Linked DNA regions of Homo sapiens: region 1 is linked to region 2. Evidence: promoter capture Hi-C in 16 types of primary human blood cells and fetal thymus (Javierre and others, 2016). All regions are on one chromosome and are shown on one strand. Each heading gives the region's core, a stretch centred on a gene start or on the middle of the fragment in contact. The rest is flanking DNA. Distances are from core to core; before and after follow the strand shown. Region 1 overlaps KCNU1 (potassium calcium-activated channel subfamily U member 1). Region 2 holds the start of NSD3 (nuclear receptor binding SET domain protein 3).

Region 1 (2,700 bases), core at 108-2,607, 1.5 Mb after region 2:
ACAAGATAAACCATAAGTCAGAATTTACCATAGTGAACCAGAAAAAGTACAGTTAATAACCGTTCTCTTAGGGACAGAACAAACTGCAAAGACTGGTCTTAGAAACCACTCTTACAAAGGGGCCCAAATTTAATTGCGTAATACTGTGGAGCAATAGATAACTCAGGCATAATAAAAAACAATAATAGGCAGCCTGCTAGTGTAGTCTAGGAACTGGGTGTGATACTAACAGAAGCGGAGAGCTTACCATAGAGATCAGGGAAAGAGACCATTAAAATGAGCCCTGCTAAAACCACTATAAGCCCAATGGTTGTTAACCACTGTAGTCCAAGGCTGCACTCTCCAATGAGCAACATCAAAAGCTTCAAACTTAGGGGAAATTTATTTTATAAAACAGTTCAGCCAAGTCACTAGCCAACTAACTAAACAACCAGTGACAACAACAAGCCTTGGTTTTCAGAGCTGCTATAATTATCTACAATATCCATTTTCAACACAAAATATGAGACATGCAAAGTAACAGGAAAGCATGAGACATGAAAATTAACAGGAAAGCATGAGCTATACACAGGGTGGGGAAAGCAGGCAAAAGAAACTTTCTGTGCAAGAGTCCATGTCAGAGTTAGCAGAAAAAATATTAAGAGCCAATATTCTAAATATGTTGAAAGAAATGAAGGAAATCCTGATTAAAGAAATAAAAGCATGATGACAATATCTCCCTAAAGAAACATTATCCATAAACAAATACAAATTTTAAGAAGAACAAAATAGAAGCTTTATAGTTGAAAAGTACATTAACTGATGTTAATTATTCACTAGAGGGGTTAATAAATTGGAGACTGTCTCCCCAAATATTAATATGTGTCTACCCAGAACCTCAAAATGTGACTGTTGTGGACTAAATTGTGCCCTACATCACAAAAAATCTTGAAACCAGCACGAGAAAAATGTGGTTTACATGTGAAACAGCTGACTTCTTATCAGAAAAAATGGAGGTTAGAAGGCAATAAGATGTCATTGAAAAGTGCTGAAATAAACTGCCAACCAAGAATTTTATACCCAGGAAAACTATCTTTAAAAAATGAAGACAAGATACCAGAAAAAAAATAAAATAAAAGGTAGAGGAAGGACACGAGATAGGCCGCCCCTCCATAAAAATAGAATAAACTGGCAAAACTTGTGAGAATTATTTTTTTTTCAGAACTCTGGAAACTAACCAACAGGAGCCTTGAAAACATTTAGTCGAGAGAAATAAATAGATAGCAGTAAGAGATATAAGATTTGTGTTATTTTAATTTACACTAGTTTCATCTCCAGCTCCACAGCTCATCGATAGCTTTCAAAACATAATACTCCATATTCTTGGCACTAGAGGGAGTACAGCAGAAATACAGTTCTTCAAAAGCCTTATTTCCAAAGAAGAGTCATTATTTTGACTTGTCTGGTGGTTCCCTGCATAACCCTACTTGAATGGCTTTTCTTTTTCAGCCTCATTTGCATGTATCTAGTGCTACAAGCCTATCCCCAGGGAGTGTTATCAAATATATTAACGTCACATGTGCCTGAGGCAACAGATAGCAGGGCAAATTGAAGACCAAATGAAAGCATAAAAGGAAAACTGAAGAATAAAATGTCTTCTTACTTATAAGGGACTTTGAAAAACTCTGGAATATTACTGGAAATCTAAATGACAATGAAGATGCCCAGAACTGTGTAAAGCTGTATGCATAAGCAGAAAGGCCTGAGAAGTTCCAAAGCTCTCATCTCTAACTGACCTTGAGGTTTCATACAAGCAGAAAATGAAGGCTAAACACAGTTGTCAACTTTACAGCTGACTATTGAAGGCATGCCCCAACACAAACACAGAATCCTTTGACAAAGACTGAGAAACTTCTTGGTTCCAGGTGTTTAACAAAAATCATTGTCCAATTATAAGCTTACCACTAAGTTGAGTAGAAAATTCAATGGCCACAAATGACAGAGAGATAGACTTTGGGAAAGTCTACTGGAGAATCTGATTTCCATAAATAACACACTATAACCTGTGTAATGTCTAATTTTCAACAAAAAGTTATAAGACTTGGAAAGAAACAAGCAAGATAAAAATACATAGGAAAAAGGCTCTCAATAGACACCATCCTTGAGAGAAGCTCAGATATTGTACTTACTAGTCAAAGACTTTTAAAATCAGCTAATTTAAATATATTTGAAGAGCTTTAAAAACCTATATATAAATAACCAAAAGGAATATGAGAATGATGTCTCACAAAATAGAGAATGTCATTAAATAGTTACAAATTTTTTTAAGTAGAAATCTTGGAGTTCAAAGTACAAGAACTAAAATAAAAACTTTACAAGAGGAACTAAAGATCAGACTTGAGCATGCAAAAAAAAAAAAAAGAATCAGCATACTCAAAGATAGGTGAATGAAGATTATACAGTTTGAGGGACAGAAGAAAAAAGGAATTAAGAAAAATGAAGACAGCCTAAGGGACCGCTGGGACATTATCAAGTGTACCAAAGGATTTAATGAAAGATCCAGGAGAAGAGTAAAGAAAGGAGTAGAGTGAATATTTGAGAAATAATGGCCAATAACTTCTCAAAGTGGTTGAAAAACATTAATCTACACAACTAAAAAGCTTAATAAACTCCTAGTAGGATAAATTTAAAGAGATTGACACATGGAGACCTGTCATAATC
Region 2 (2,700 bases), core at 156-2,655:
TACAGGCGTGAGCCACTGCGCCCAGCCAATACTGATAATTCTCAGTATCTAGTATTAACCGGGTTACGTTTAAAAAAAATAGTTCATAATTAGTGCCCTTTTAAATAACTGATCTGTAGAAATCATTTAATTTCCTTAAGTGATATTTAAAGATAGAGATATCTAATTTCTTGTAATAGTACCAAAGACATCCAGCACTATAACGTCTACAGAGTATGACGTCTAGCGGTAAAATGGCTTTATTCTCAGAACAGAGTATCGGTTTCCTCATTTGCTTGCTGCCTCTGTTTCCTTTTTACGTTCACGTCTCTGTGCTGTAACCTTCCAAATCCTTATCACCAGGCCCCAGGAAATATCACCTGGTCGGCACACTCCTGCAGGGCCAGATCACTGTGCACACACTTAACCTTCCATTGTTTTCCATACGTTTCCTAGGATGCGGGGGGCTAGAGGATGACGGAGAGTTGCCTCCCGGTTCTTCCTCTCGTTCTTATCTTGGGCCCTCTAGGACAAATGTCCCTCACGTCCCTCGATGCGAAGGTCTGGCCGCGAGCAGCCGCGGCCTCCGGCACGTGACGGTCACGGAGCCGTCGCGGTCCCCCGCGGCTGGGGGGCACCCGGGGATGCGGCGGGCGCTGACGTCGTCCTCCCGGTTACCCACAAGCCTCCGGGCCGCAGCAGAGCAGGAAGAGGCGCGCGGGGCCGGCGCCTGCCGGGGAGGTCGAGGCGCTCCCTCGGCGAGCCGGCGCCGCCGGCCGGGTCTCCTACTGCTTGCAACCGGGGGAGGGGGACCATCCGACAGCTCAGCCGGGGCTGAGAGGGAGACGACGCCAAGGCGGTCTTGCATCGCCCCCGGCTTTCCAAATGCAGACCCTACCGGAACCGGAGCCCTTCCCTGACAGCCGTAGGACGGGAGACGGCCGAGGGGTCGCCTGGACTGCCCCGCCCTCGCGCGGTGACCCACCGGGGACCGTGCGAGGGTCGCTTCTAACCCTTAAGAGCTAGAGAGCCGAGTCACCCTGAGGAGCGCCGTATGGCGCTGGTTGCGCGTTGTTCTTTAATCAGCCTCACTGAACGCGCCGATCCCAGTTTTACCTCCCGGGCCCCACCTTTCCACGCCTCCTCCGGCTTCCCGGGGTGTTTTGTGTGTCACTCTCCCACGTACAGTCCCTCCCCGTCCCTCGTTCCTCGGCCCTCTCGCCCGGTCTCCCTAGTCGTCCAGACGCTAGCTGCCGCGGGCGTTCCTGGTTCGCGCTCCCGCCCCCTCCGCCCCGCCGACTCGCCGCTTCCTCCGGAGCCCCAGCGTCCCGAACCAGGGACTGCATTTCCCGGCAGGCGCCGCGGCCCGCGGCCAATGAGGGGCTGAGGATTTGGCGGCGGCGGCGCCCCGAGAGTCGGGGTGGGGGGGCTTTGTGCGCGGCGGCGGCGGGAGAGGCGGCGGCGGCGGCCAGCACGGAGGCGGAGGCCGAGGGGGCTGTGCACAGGTCGCCGCGGAGAGGCGTGCGAATTCCGAGCCGAGCGCCGAGGACCGTGCTACCCAGGCCGGGCTGCCAGCCGCAGGCTCCTCTCTGGCAGCAGCGGCGGCGCGGCGACCCCCGTCCCTCGGCCTCCCCTTCCCATCCCACCTCCCGAGCCTTCCTCTTCCCGCAGCACGCCCGGCCCGGCCCGGCCGTGGCCCTCCTCAGTGCCGGCCGCCATGGCAGAGGCGTCCGGCGCGGGGAAAATCTAGCCCGGGGATTTCATGCGGCCTAGCTCGGTTCCGCCTCCTCCTCGCGCGGCCCCAGCGGCTGCCCGCACCCCAGCCCCACTCCGGGCCTCCGTGTCTCTCCTGTGATCGCACTGACACGGCCGGGGGGTTAGAATGGAACAAACTGAAGGTAAAGTGCGTGTGCGTGTGTGTATGTGTGTGTGTGTGTGTGTGTGTGTGTGCGCGCGCGCGCGTGTGTAGTGCTAGGAAGGGCTGAGGAGGGAACGACGGGGAGGGGGCGACCTAGGGATGGAGCGCCAGACCCCAGGAGGAATGGAAGGGGAAGCGGGTGGCCTGAAAGGGCTCGAGGGGAGTCCTGACGGAGGAGCAGATGGCAAGGTGGGGGGTGTGGAGGGAATTGGGGGGTGGGCCAGGGGAGGTGGGGAGTGGGATGGGAGTCGGAGTGGCGCTGAGCTGGGAATTGGGAAAGTGGGATGGGGGCGGGGATAAGGATGGATCGGGGAGGGGCAGGGAAAGGGGAGAAGAGTTGCATGGAGATTACAGACCTGGGTGGACTGATAAATAGGGAGATTTGGGGATGGAGTGTAGGAACCAGAAGAGTCTGGGAGAAGGGGATAAATTTGCTGGAGAAATGGGGCATTTTATGGGAATGAAGGGAGAAATGAGGAATGGAAGTGAAGGAAAAGGTGGATTAGGAAAGGGGATGAGGCAGGCTGCAATAGGAGAATGGGAAATAGACGCAGGAAACTGGAAGACAGGATTGGGCTAGGGAAGGAAATTAACTGAATGATGACAGGGATGAGAACGATCGACTTAGCGTCAGAGTGGGAGGAAGAGAAGGGGATGGAGGTCGTTAAAGTGTTAGGAAGGGAGGCCTTTTGTTCCTGTATTTGTGTGTATTCTGTGTCTTTCTTTCAAGGCTAGAGAATAGAGAAGCTGGTGGTTATGGGATTGTGATTGTTGTGAAATGGGGAGGTGTGGGTTTTACTGTT

What was found. Contacts are between HindIII fragments. The CHiCAGO score rates a contact against its expected background, and 5 or more counts as called.
Region 1: a fragment that was not itself captured here is called in contact with the fragment with the promoter of NSD3 in region 2 in 1 of 17 cell types (M2 macrophages); the score reaches 7.5 in M2 macrophages.

What each region holds. Positions count from the first base shown.
Region 1 is chr8:36,854,173-36,856,872 of GRCh38, reverse strand. All of the region lies in intron 18 of KCNU1 (potassium calcium-activated channel subfamily U member 1), which reads right to left. Among named protein-coding and RNA genes, the nearest start is that of KCNU1, 71 kb to the right of the region's middle. The HindIII fragment of the contact is 1,162 bases long and covers 777-1,938 here.
Region 2 is chr8:38,380,976-38,383,675 of GRCh38, reverse strand. NSD3 (nuclear receptor binding SET domain protein 3) reads left to right here and starts at 1,405. Exons shown (of 24, transcript NM_023034.2): 1 at 1,405-1,877. It also overlaps a transcript of LETM2 not described here. RefSeq lists silencers at 499-848, 1,039-1,188, 1,219-1,618 and enhancers at 1,267-2,057, 2,348-2,700. The HindIII fragment of the contact is 5,398 bases long and covers 1-2,700 here.